Linked DNA regions of Homo sapiens: all the other regions are linked to region 1. The links are contacts of gene promoters, found by promoter capture Hi-C in human tissues and cell types (Jung and others, 2019). All regions are on one chromosome and are shown on one strand. Each heading gives the region's core, a stretch centred on a gene start or on the middle of the fragment in contact. The rest is flanking DNA. Distances are from core to core; before and after follow the strand shown. Region 1 holds the start of KCNH6 (potassium voltage-gated channel subfamily H member 6). Region 2 overlaps TANC2 (tetratricopeptide repeat, ankyrin repeat and coiled-coil containing 2). Region 3 overlaps DCAF7 (DDB1 and CUL4 associated factor 7). Region 4 overlaps MAP3K3 (mitogen-activated protein kinase kinase kinase 3).

Region 1 (2,961 bases), core at 403-2,902:
AGTGAGGACCCTGTGGTCCTGGGGGGTGGGGGAGGATTTCCAAGGGCTGCTGAGATCTGTCTTCAGCTCCTGACTTACGCTTCTGTTCTGCTTGCAGTATGCTCCAGCTGGCAGTAACAACCCAAACTCCATCTGAATGAGCTTCTTGGTCAGGGAAAACTCCAGACCCTGTCTCCCCAAAGAGCTGAGACTGGATAAGGCAGGCCCACCCCACTTTGCCAGCCAAAAGCCCCCATGCCTTGCCTGGCCACAGAGGTCTTCAGGAGGTGACTCCTCCTCTAATCCTTGGAGCAGACGGAGAGGAGGGAAGGTTAATTTCCATCCCAGCTGCCTGACCGCTGGGGCTGACAGTAAGATAGTGGAGAGCCAGGAGACCAGGGACACAGCAGAGGGATGGCAGAGCAGGAGGCCCTGCCCCAGGCCAGAACCAGTGGGTGGCCCAGCCTGATCCCTAGCTCCTGCAAAGGACCTCAGAAGGCATCATATCCAATGCCTGTGGAGGAACCAAGGCCCCTAGAAGAAACAGGGTTTGTTCAGGCCCTTTGGACCCTGGGTCAGTGCCTTCCCCAAGGCCACCCTGGCTGGACAAGACAGAGGGCCAAGCCTGCCCTGCAAAGCCTCTGGCCTGAGTATGCCTCACCATCCTTGCGGTAGTAGAGGATGTCCACCTTGCACTCCTCAGCCCCCAGCAGGGCCTGCGCTAGGCGGGACACGGCGCTGCTTGGTGTGTTGGGGCCTGTGAGGAAGTCGCAGGTGCAGGGTTGCTGCATCACCTCCACTCGGGAGTAGCCGAAGAGTTCGCAGAAGCCGTCGTTGCAGTAAATGATGGCGCAGTTCTCCATCTGAGCATTGGCAATCAGGAACTTCCGACCTGGGGTGGGAGGTGGGAGGCAAAAAGTCCATGGGAGCCAGGATCCAGCGGCTGGGAGGGAAAGATCATAAGGACTCTTGGTGGCAGTAAGGGGAATTTAGGCAGAGGAGCAGGGCAGTGACCGGAATGAGGGAGGGAGTCAGGCCTGGGGATTGTGGGAAGACTAGGGCAGTGAGGGTCTTGAGGTGGAAGGAAGGCCCAAGGCCTCCTGGAAACAGGAAAAGTGTGGGGAAGGGAGGCAGGGATGTGACCAGATGGGGGTCAGGCCTGGGAAAGCTCCTGGGAAGACCAGAACCAGGATATGAAAAGGAAGGAAAAGAAGGACTCAGAGAAGCCTCTGGAGGACGCGGATGAGGGGGCAGGCAGTGGCTGGAAGGGGAGGTTCGAACTTGGGGCACCAAGGAAACAGCTGGCAGTAGGGAGGGAAGGCCTGCACGCTGCTCCTTGTGTTCCAGAAAAGAGGACAGCATTTAAGGCAAGCGGGTCCCCCTGGAGGAGAAGGTGTTGGGGACATCAAAAGAAGGATTTTTCATTCAGCACCCGGCACTCACCACCTTGCCCGGTTAGAAGTTAGTAAAGGGGTCCAGCCCCCCCTTTCACGGAACCAGGACTCCAGATCGTCCCCCCGCCCCAACATACACACACTCACTTTGGCCCTCGAACTTGCGGATGATGGTGTCCAGGTAAGTGTTTTGGGGAGCGACGTGGCCCCTGCGGACCGGCATCTTTCGGCCGCGGCCCCTGCCCGGAGCCACAGGCGCCACTGGCTCCCGGCGTCTCCGTCTGTCCTCGGGCTCAGCAGCGTCCGGCTCCGGTGGGCGCCGCCCCCGGGGAGGGCCGCCGGGCTCCGCGCCCCGCCCGCCAGCCTGCGTCTGCCCTCCCCTCCCCACCCCTGCCCCACCTCTCCTTTCCTTTCCTGCGCTCCCCTGCCCTCCCCTCGCCTCCCTGGCCCGCGCCCTCCTGGCCTCCTCTCCTCTGCGCCGGCCCGGGAGCTGTCCACGCCTTGGTGCTGAAAGAAGCCGCGCGCCGGCGGCGGGGAGGGGGCCGCTGGGCGGGGCAGTTTCTCTGGGACCCGACGGGGCTGGGGCGGGGCCTTGCATCCTACGGGGCGGGGCGGGGCGGGGCGGGGCGGGGCTGGGGTCCTGGCCCTGGAATAGGGCAGGTGTTCTCTGAGGAGCTGCTTCTGTTCCTGTCCTAAGGGCCAATGGCCTCAGCACCTCTCCGATTCCCTCCCAGTACCAAAGGGCAGTCTCCCCTCCCAGTGCAGGGAGTTTCCCAGGCAGGAGGGGGGCTACAGATGGGGTTGTTAGGGGCCTCAGGTGGTCTTTGGCTGAAAGCTTTCTTCCGGGTCTGACCACTGGGCCCGACCCTGGCAATGATACCATTAGGCCTCTGGCCTGCTCTTATAGCAAGTGATCTCCAGCTCAGCTGAGACCTAGGTCCCATGCAGAGCTCCTGCCGCCAAGTCCAGCCAGGGCCTGGTCCTGAGAGGAGGGGGTAGGAGTACACATGAAGACGTGCAAGAAATATGCAATAAGGGCCAGGCGCGGTGGCTCACGCCTGTAATCCCAGCACTTTGGGAGGCAGAGGTGGGCAGATTACCTGAGGTCAGGAGTTTGAGACCAGCCTGGCCAACATGGCGAAGCCCTGTCTCTACTGAAAAAACAAAAATTAGCTGAGTGGTGGCGCAAACCTATAATCCCAGCTACTTGGGAGGCTGAAGTGGGAGAATCGCTTGTACCCGGGAGGCGGAGGTTGCAGTGAGCCGAGATTGCGCCACTGTACTCCAGCCTGGTAGACAGAGCGAGACGCGAGACTCCATCTGAAAATAAAAAGAAAGAAAGAAAGAAGTATGCAATAAGATGCCTTCTTCAGAGGCCTGAGAGCTCTTAGCATACAGGTACATCTTGGAAGGAGAACAGATTTAAAACCACCTATTAGCAAGTGACCACTGATAAAAGTGTCTGAGTACTGAGTACTGACTGAAAATGAACACACTAGAAAAAGCAAATGGGGGTGGGAATAGGTTTATTGAAAGAGGCTTCCTGGAGAGGAAGGGGAGAAGGGGACTACTGTTCACTGAGCATCTG
Region 2 (2,979 bases), core at 355-2,854, 98 kb after region 1:
ACCTGTGAATGAAGTGGAGATCTGGAGCCGGCATCTCTTAACTTTTTTTTTCCCCCCAGTAAATTGGTATGCAATAAGGCAGGTACATTCAAGTACTGAATTTTCCAGAATTAACTCTTGTCTGGCGCTGGGGACCAAAGGGATTGAGTTGAGCCCCCTCTAACCAGACTTTCTGGTTAGCGATTAGCAAAAGAAAAATTCAGCCAGCAAGTGCTACAAAAACAAAGCAGCTAGGGCACTTCCGTTCCACAGAGTAGGTCTACCTGGAAAAATGAGCGCGGCGCTGGCCTGATCTCTACGCGTCCAGCGGCAGCCTGGCAAGTCAGCTCAGCGTCGGTATCAGAGTCAGCAGGAGGCAATGAGATGATGGGGTGAGGAAACATGAAAGTAACACTTGATTTTTGGTGTCCAATTATGCGTTCATTTGGTACTGACTTTCAAAGCTCTGACTGTGGCCACCATGTGGCCACAAGCATCTCAGGGTGGCTCACCTGCTGTGAGGCTTTGGACACCGAAATGAAGGTTACCAACACTTCAGCCCTTGAGTGGTCTGTATGACAAAAGGAGTTGATGAAAACCCAGTGATTATTCAAGTAGCTCTGCACAGTGGCTCCACCAGCCCCATTGTGCTTGTGTCCAGGCCCCCAGCCAGCCACCTTTTCTTGGGAGCAGCCAGAGCTGAGTTCAAGGCATTGCATGGTGAAGGGTTCCATGACACGTCTTTGCAGGTAGCTCTTGCCCCTAAGCCCTTTGTTCATTGTTGTTAGTCATGGTAGATGGTCGGTCTGGAATTCCTAGAGGAAGAGGAGAAAGAGCTGCACCTCCCAGTGAGCGAGCAGCAGGACCGCACAGCCCTCGGTGTGGAGGCAGCAGCCGGCTGCCTTTGCAGGTCGGTTTCTTGAGAAATGGGCAGCCCAGGAACAGACAGGCAGGGTGTGCGAGGCTGCTGGGCACTGGGAGCATCAAGAGGAGGCTGGGCACAGGGGCGGGCACCTCTTGCCCCCTGGGATAGCCTATTCCATTTTGTGGCAAAGATTCAGTGAGCACTGGTTTTGTCCAAGGCATTTCTGCAGTAGAAAAATAACTCTCTCTGAATCAAACCACCCAACTGTGACGCTTCTGGAGTTATAAAAGCTGGAGGCTGAGAGGAACTGACAGGAGGGAGGCTCATGGGGAAGAAGGGGCTTCTCCATGTACCCATCCCTCTACCAGAGCAAGGGAGCTCTGGTCAACCTTCTTCCAGCCTCTGCCTGGCTGAAGTCCAAAGCATGTAGTGTTCAAAGAGTTCGTCTTGCACAACTGGCACAGATGCACGAAGACCCCTTCCAGGCCTCTGTTGCCTTCTCCTGAACCTCTGAGCCCGCTTGCCTGTTGCCCTGGAAGCAGCTCCTCTCTCCCGAGGGGATGCCGCTGTTCTTTGCTACAAAACAAGCGCAGTGCAGAGCCACAGTGACACCTAGTGGTAAACTATGGTGAAGCACAAGTGACATCCACATAGCCCACTGTACGTGACTAAAATCTAAGGAAAAATACTTATGGATATTAAATTAGATACTGATTAATTTTTAATTTTTTCTATTGGGTACATCTCTGGAATATAAAAATACCAATATTTAGAGAGGGGCTCATAAACTACTATACAATATTAAGGACTGAGAATACCTTTCTCTAAGCTGTTCTGTTTACAATAATTTAGGAAAAGTGTTTAATAATCCAGGCTTAACTACATTAGCAAACTTGTATATCTGGACAACGACCTGGGGTACTGTACATGATTCTAATTAGTGGAATTTTCCTGAGCCATCGAGTTTAAGTTATACACATCTAAAAAGAGGGGCACATGGGGGAGGAGCGAGAAGGGTTTGTGCTCTATTAACTTGGGACTTTAATAGTGCACGTCTGCAACCCGGACAAGATACAACAGCAGATACAAAATGGTCTCCATTTTGTCATGCCAAATTCTCATGTTACACAGGTTTTCCCTTTACTTTGTAAATAAACATTAATTGTTAATTGTTAATTGTGTGCCTTACTGATCCAGTAGATAAAGTAACCGTGTCTCAGGAGTCCCTAAGAACATTGCTGGAAAAGCACTTTAAAATCACTGCAAATATTTTTCATATTAAAAAATTCTTAATCTTTTTGATGCTTATATACAAGTTATTTCTTGTGCTATAAATGTTGTGATCCACTGCTTGATGTCTTTCCTTTCCTTTTTTCTTGAAAAATACACTAAAAGACAAGAGCGGTTCTGCTATTTTCTAATGAAGACATTACTCACACTTAAATATCCAGTACTTCAGTTACAAATTCAAACAGTAAAGTGCACCCATTTATAGACATGATGTGATAGAAACCCATTAGTGCAAGAATCCTGGGCCAATGGAACATACAACTTGGTGAGAAACCTATTAAACTGAAGTTTGTCACCTCTGTCCTCCATTTCAGGGTGGTATGAATTGAGTAAGTTTCATCTGAAACATTTCCTCCCACCTGAAGCCAGACATGGACTCAGCGAGTGTTTGCTGCTGGGGAAGGGGCAGCTCTGAAATACAGTACTCGGATCATTCCATGGCAGTGAAGTAGCAAACAGGGCACAGGGCACAGGCAGTCTGCTTGTAAGGAAAAACGTCTCCTGCCCCAACAAGCTCTGGTTGGCATATTCTAGTCAAAAACAACTGGCATGCAGCAGTGATACCTACTCCCTCTTATGATGGCCAAAAAGAATGGCATTTTGACTGTTGACATTTTAGGTGTTTTGCCCATAGGGTATAGGCCCTAAATCTTTTTGTCCTGGAAAACTGAGAGACCCTGGGGAGAAGCGGCATCAGCGGCATATTTGTAAAGCTACAGGACCTGCTCATTCGCCTGGACAGGTGAGTGCGGGTGGTGTGTGGCGTTCCAAATGAGCAGGAGCACTTTCCTGACAGACACTGAGAAATTCTTCAAAATGCAGTGGCTCCTCAGCGAGAGGCGGTT
Region 3 (2,950 bases), core at 283-2,782, 72 kb before region 1:
TGGTGCGATCTTGGCTCACTGCAACCTCCACCTCCCGGGTTCAAGCTATTCTCCTGCCTCAGCTTCCCAAGTAGCTGGGACAACAGGCGTGTGCCACCATGCCTAGCTAATTTTTGTATTTTTAGTAGAGATAGGGTTTCACCATGTTGGCCAGGCTGGTCTCGAACTCCTGACCTCAAGCTATCTGCCCCTCCCTCCCCCCTCAGCCTTCCAAAGTGCTGGGATTAGAGAGTTGAGCCACTGCACCCGGCCCAGAGGACTTTGTGTAAGCAAAAAATAAGCTTTTGTAGTGCTCAGTTTCTGAGATTTGGGGGTTTGTTGCCGCAGCATAGGCTAGCCTATAAATAGTATTACTCTCTGTTTTCTCCTTAAAAACCAGAGAGCAGGACTCATGTGTTTCTCACAAAATATACATTGTCAGACCATATAGCAGCACAGTTCCAAAGGACCAGCAGGTACTCATAAAACTTAAATTCTCTGCCAGGCACGGTGGCTCACGCCTGTAATCCCAGCACTTTGGGAGGCCGAGGTGGGTGGATCATCTGAGGTCGGGAGTTTGAGACCAGCCTGACCAACATGATGAAACCCCATCTCTACTAAAAATATAAAATTAGCCAGGCGTGGTGGCACATGCCTGTAGTCCCAGCTACTCAGGAGGCTGAGACAAGAGAATCGCTTGAACCCGGGAGACGGAGGTTGCGATGAGCCGAGATCGCGCCATTGCACTCCAGCCTGGGCAACAAGAGCGAAATTCTGTCTGAAAAAAAAAAAAAATTAAATTCTCAAGAGCACATACTTCCCTTCACAGATCCACTGCCACCGGCTCCATATCAGCTGACACAATGGCAGGTACTTACCGAATACAGGTTCACGGAACCAATCAGTTTGCCTTTCTTCTCTTCCTTCACAGTGGCCCAACATGAAGAATAAAAATATAAATAAATGGGGGTAGTATTTCATCCAGGACACACAGCATTTGAAGAGCAGTGGGATAGGAACTCCCCCACCCTACCGTGTGGGGCATAGGTTTGGGAAATTAGCAGGGACTTGGACATTCCTAGTCAGCCATCAGAACCTGTCCAAATCCAAAAGATCTGGGAGTTATTTCTCTGTCCTCCTTCACAATCAATAAATTACTAAATGCTGATGACTGCATCCCTCTTTACTTGTGCCCTGTCCTCTCCATCCTTGCCGTGGCTGCTGCTGCCGCCGCCGCCTTAGTTCAGGGTTTTTCTCTCACCCTATAAGAAGGAAGAGGCACTTTTTCATTGCCTATCCTTCTAAAATGCAATTCTGATGACTCCTCTCTGTGTATGTTTTCCAGGATCATACAGAAGTGTAATGTCTAAAATTTCTGCAAAGCGGGAGACTTTCCCTGCCCTGGCTCCTGTATACATCTCTAGCTACATTTCCCACTATTCACCCCACCTCAACCTGCAATTCTCTAAATATGACCATACTTTCTTGCCTCCATAGATTTGCACATGGGTGTTCTCTCTGCCTTAAAGGACATTCCCTATTTCCAGATAACTCCTACTCAGCCTTCAAAACCCAGCTTAGGCATCCATCTTAAGTAGTTTTCGCTGACCCCATGTGGCTCCCACACAGGCAGAGGTGATCACCTCCTCCTGAGGGGTGATGCCTAAACACATCCATTATCGCACAACAATGCAAGTTATTTGGTTTTTTTGTTTTTTGTCTTTTAAAAATTTGGGTGGGAGGGGGTAGGGATAAAAGACTACCAATTGGGTACAGTGTACACTGCTCCGGTGATGGGTGCACCAAAATCTCAGAAATCATCATTAAAAAAACTTATTATCCACATAACCAAAAACCACTTGTTCCCCCAAAACTATTAAAATAAAATAAATGCCAGGTGCGGTGGCTCACACCTGTAATCCCAACACTTTGGGAAGCTGAGGCAGGCGTATCACAAGGTCAGGAGTTCGAGACCAACCTGACCAACACGGTGAAACCCCGTCTTTACTAACAATACAAAAATCAGTCGGGTGTTGTGGCACATGCCTGTAATCTCAGCTACTCAGGAGGCTGAGGCAGGAGAATAGCTTGAACCGGGAGGTGGAGGTTGCAGTGAGCCGAGATCGCGCCATTGCACTCCAGCCTGGGTGACAGAGCGAGACCCCGTCTCAAAAAAAGAAAAAAGAAATGCAAAAAAAAAGATTTGTCTTAGATCTTAGTCTGGCTAAAAGAAATTTTTTTTTTTTTTAATAAAAATGACTGATTGATTGAGACAGGGTCTTGCTATGTTGCCAAGGCTGGTCTTGAACTCCTGGCCTCAAGTGATCCTCCCACCTCAGCCACCCCCATGCCTCAGCTGGGATCACAGACCACTGTGCCCGGCCACAAGTATTTATGTAGATGTCTCCTCTGGTAGACTGCAACCAACTTGAGGGCCATGTCCCCTGGCATAGAGGAGGTGCTCCACTGAATTAACAAGTGAATGACTAAATAGGATATAAAAGGTGATGAGTAGACTGCCCGGCTCGGGCTGGGGCACTGCCACTGTCTATGGAACATGACCAAAGTGACAAAATGGGAAGAACTGAATTCGTCACAAAAAGAAATTCAGTCAATCTATACATGTTCAAGTTTTATTACAAAGTATGATGGGCAGAAAATACGGTACTTCTTATACAGGAGGCTGAAACAGAATGAAAGGGTGAAAATTAGGTTTAATTTACTTAGGAAACAAGAAATAGAAAGTCATAGCTATAACACTCCACTTTCAGGTGCCCATGAAGTAGCCTTCAATGGAGATTCCCCATAGTTGTTTCACAGCACAGTGTTAAAATTTTATTACAAGCCCTGTGTACAATCAGTCCTGTGAAAATATTTATAAAAGAAAAATATTACAGTACAGTTCTGCAAGGGGCAGCTTCCTCTACACCTGACCGTGGATGCCACAAAACCTATAATATAGAGGGAAAGT
Region 4 (3,417 bases), core at 310-2,809, 110 kb before region 1:
TCATTCTGTTTCCTGACCTGGAGTGCCACCCTTCCTCCGTTCTACCTAACTGTTTATACTTCCTTCACAGCCTAGTTCAAGTGCCCTTCCACCTGAAATGACTCCATAGCTCCTCTGGCCCAGGCTCATCTTTCATTTTCCTGGCCTTCTATAGCACTTACTCTCTGTACCACACAGTGAGGCATAGTCATATCATACTTTCTTTTTTTCATGTAGTCCTCACTTCCCAGTAAGACTGCATGATTCCTGGGGTACAGGGAATATGACATACCTTTCTTTTTTCTTTTTTTTCTGAGATGGAGTCTTGCTCTGTCGCCCAGGCTGGAGTGCAGTGATCTCGGCTCACTACAACCTCCGCCTCCCAAGTACAAGCGATTCTCCCACCTCAGCCTCCCAAGTAGCTGGGATTACAAGCACCTATCATCATGCCCAGCTAATTTTTGTATTTTTGTACAGACAGGGTTTCACCACGTTGGCCAGGCCAGGTGATCCGCCTGCCTCGGCCTCCCAAAGTGTTGGGGTTACAGGCATGAGCCACCACTCCTGACCGACATACATTTCTTTTGTGTGTCTGAGAAGCGTGACCATAGGCACATGTTAAACTGAATGGAGGTGTCAGCTACTGAGAAAAAAGTTCTAGTACAGAAATTCAGGTCTAAGCAGCTTCATGTCCCCTCCCCACCACAGGCAATCCGGTGAGAGCAGTAGTGACAGCCACGCTCAGGAGAGAGACAGTGCGGGCTGTCGGGTTGAGCTACAGATTCAGGGACTCAGCAGGAGCAACAGGAATAACTGACAATAACACTAAAGCAGAAATGACCTTCTCAAAGTCTGGACTCAACAGCTGAACATGTAGCCCAAAAAGCTTTCAAGAATCCAGAAAAATCAGGATTTATTAACCAAAGGTTTATGAACTAACTTGACCTGAAAAAGGCCTCAGTTACCCATCATTCTTCTTATCCTCGCTCTGATTCTGTACTGATTTCTCTCCCTGCATTTGCTACATACCTTTGATGCCTCCCCACATTTCTGGAATTGCAGTCCTTATTTTGCCAAAGAGAGTAAGTGAATGAAAGGAAAAAAAAATACAACAAAAATTAAAATTTTATTTTTAAGCATGACTCTGGAAAGTTGTAGGAGATCAGTGGAAGAGACGATTATAAAGCAATCTTCTTACAAAATATAATGCCAGGCTTGTGTGTTGTTTTATATCTTATTTTCAAACTGGCCAGCCCATCTTATCAACAACCCTTGAAAGAGAAGGGAGGTCCTGAAGAGCCAGGTCTTTCACACTGAAAGCAAAAGACAGTCTGCTCAATCACTGACCCTGCTGGGGGAACAGATCCTGGAATTCTCTTCCTCTAGAAATGATAGCCAAGGCCCTGCCCTGCTTGTGCCTATCATGAAGAAAGCAGCTTTTCTGTTCTGAAGCACCCACTCATGAACATCTGGAGGGTTAGATCCAGAGCCCAGACTCTGTTCAAGTATCTACCTACCATTTTGATAAGATTCAAGGGAAACAGGAATCCATGGAAATAAGGATTCCATTTCTTCCTCCACTGGGATTTTCAGAAATTAGGCTAGCTTCAGAAATTTGCAAAGATCATCAGATAAACAGTAATGATAATCCCATAAAGAGAGAAAAACCTTAATCCTTTCAGTTCCACAACACTATGGACAGTTGTAGTTAGAAGCTTTCCCCAAAGCTCACACCTGCAGTGCCAGAACATAAGAAGTGACATAACCACTGCAACTTCACATTTGTACATTTGTTTTACAATGTACAAAATATTTCACATTCTGTCTATGATCTTACAACAATCTTAAGAGGTAGACACAGTGAGTATTAAGTCTATATTTCAGATGGAAAAACTCACTTCAGAAAGGTTATATGACTTATACATGGTAAAATTACGGTGACTAGGAATCAGAAGGCTTGGATTTACTTCCTGCCTCTACTCAATACCTTTGTGTAAAAGCTGTGTAAACCTTATACACATGCTTATAGCATTGATGTTAACTGTTGTTGAAAGCACTCTATAAATTATAAAATCCTACATTAATAGATGAGTAACAACTCTATGACTCCTAGGCCAGTACTCTTTTTTTTTTTTTTTTTTTGGTTGGTCTCAGTTTTTAATAGTGGCAGGGCCTCACACACTTGCACACGTGCGCATGCACGCACACACACTCTAAGGCTTCAGACCTTGTTGAAAGCTGCAACATCGACACTCTACACACGCTCTCAAACTTGGTAATCTCCTCTTCCAGAAAGTTTGTCCCCACCTTGTCGTCCCCCACCACACACTGAATCTGCAGCTTCCGGATACCGTAGCCCATGGGCACCAGCTTGGAGGCCCCCCTAGACCAGCCCGTCCAGCTGGATGAAGCGCATACAGGCCTCCAATTGGGCTATATTGGTCTCATTGTCCCAAGGCTTGATGTCCAGCGGGATGGAGGACTTGACCACCAACGCAGTCTTCTTGGCCTTCTTCTCCACATACCACCTCAGCCACTTCTCCCACAGCCGGGCTGCCTCCTTGTCTTCCTCCTCATTGTCGCTGACAAACAGGTCAATGTCATTGTCCTTGTCACCCTCTGCTAGTGTGGCTGCCTTCTTGGCTGGGGGCTCCACTTGGCACATGGGAGACACATGCTGGATCTGCGTGGCTGTGTCCCTGTGGCCAGGCAAGCTCTTCTCCAGCATGTTCAGCCACAGGCCAGCACTCTTTTCACTATACTAAGTTGTCAGACCCACAGAGAACTAACACCCATTGATAACTCACTGTGAGTTAATGACTGCTAAAGGGACACTGCACATCATGGCCTGCAAAACTATCCATAGGACCCAGCCACACGTAGGATGTGCCACACATCTAAGAATATTCAGTCAGCTCTAACCACGCTGTAGGCTTCCAGAGACCCAATATACAAAAGGGAGAATACAGCAAATGCTCCTAGTGTACAGTATTCTCTGTACTCCTAGAATACAGAGAATACAGAATCTACCTCCTAGAAAATTGTTAATAGCTCACTGCCCATGTACTTCCATAGCTGCCTATTTGTTCTCAAATCCATTCTCTTTTTCAATTACTTACCAAGCTTGTTTACTTAGGGAAAAGGATGTCTCAAGTCTTGCTAAGCAGAGATATTAAATTAGATTTTTCAGTTCTTCCAGGCCTCGGCACCCAAACAATCCTGTTAATGAACCCACAGCTCCTCTGGCTTTCCTTGCTGGGCCAAGCTTGAGCTCCATGAAGCTGTGCCAGTCTCGACTCTGCCTTGTAGCCAGCACTGCCATTCTCATAGTGAAAGGCTGTTTGCCTCTGCCAGCCCCATTCCACCCTTGAATAAACAACCTTTCCAGCTAGCCAAAATGCTTAGCTTCTTTCAACTGGGACTCTGTAATTTGAATCT

Evidence for each region. Contacts are between HindIII fragments. The study calls those that stand out against the background at their distance.
Region 2: a fragment that was not itself captured here is called in contact with the fragment with the promoter of KCNH6 in region 1 in 5 of the 25 tissues and cell types used here (aorta, heart left ventricle, mesendoderm cells and 2 more).
Region 3: a fragment that was not itself captured here is called in contact with the fragment with the promoter of KCNH6 in region 1 in 6 of the 25 tissues and cell types used here (IMR-90 fibroblasts, dorsolateral prefrontal cortex, lymphoblastoid cells and 3 more).
Region 4: a fragment that was not itself captured here is called in contact with the fragment with the promoter of KCNH6 in region 1 in 8 of the 25 tissues and cell types used here (bladder, dorsolateral prefrontal cortex, heart right ventricle and 5 more).

The regions. Positions count from the first base shown.
Region 1 is chr17:63,522,049-63,525,009 of GRCh38, reverse strand. KCNH6 (potassium voltage-gated channel subfamily H member 6) reads right to left here and starts at 1,652. Exons shown (of 13, transcript NM_001278919.2): 1 at 1,521-1,652; 2 at 641-871. The coding sequence starts at 1,596. The HindIII fragment of the contact is 20,898 bases long and covers 1-2,961 here.
Region 2 is chr17:63,424,053-63,427,031 of GRCh38, reverse strand. It overlaps TANC2 (tetratricopeptide repeat, ankyrin repeat and coiled-coil containing 2), which reads right to left. Exons shown (of 28, transcript NM_001394998.1): 28 at 1-2,979. Among named protein-coding and RNA genes, the nearest start is that of CYB561, 21 kb to the left of the region's middle. RefSeq lists an enhancer at 582-1,320. The HindIII fragment of the contact is 4,240 bases long and covers 1-2,979 here.
Region 3 is chr17:63,593,915-63,596,864 of GRCh38, reverse strand. It overlaps DCAF7 (DDB1 and CUL4 associated factor 7), which reads right to left. Exons shown (of 7, transcript NM_005828.5): 7 at 2,599-2,950. Among named protein-coding and RNA genes, the nearest start is that of TACO1, 5.5 kb to the left of the region's middle. The HindIII fragment of the contact is 6,157 bases long and covers 1-2,950 here.
Region 4 is chr17:63,635,897-63,639,313 of GRCh38, reverse strand. The region is part of intron 2 of MAP3K3 (mitogen-activated protein kinase kinase kinase 3); the gene reads right to left. It also overlaps the pseudogene EEF1DP7. Among named protein-coding and RNA genes, the nearest start is that of MAP3K3, 15 kb to the right of the region's middle. The HindIII fragment of the contact is 5,071 bases long and covers 1-3,417 here.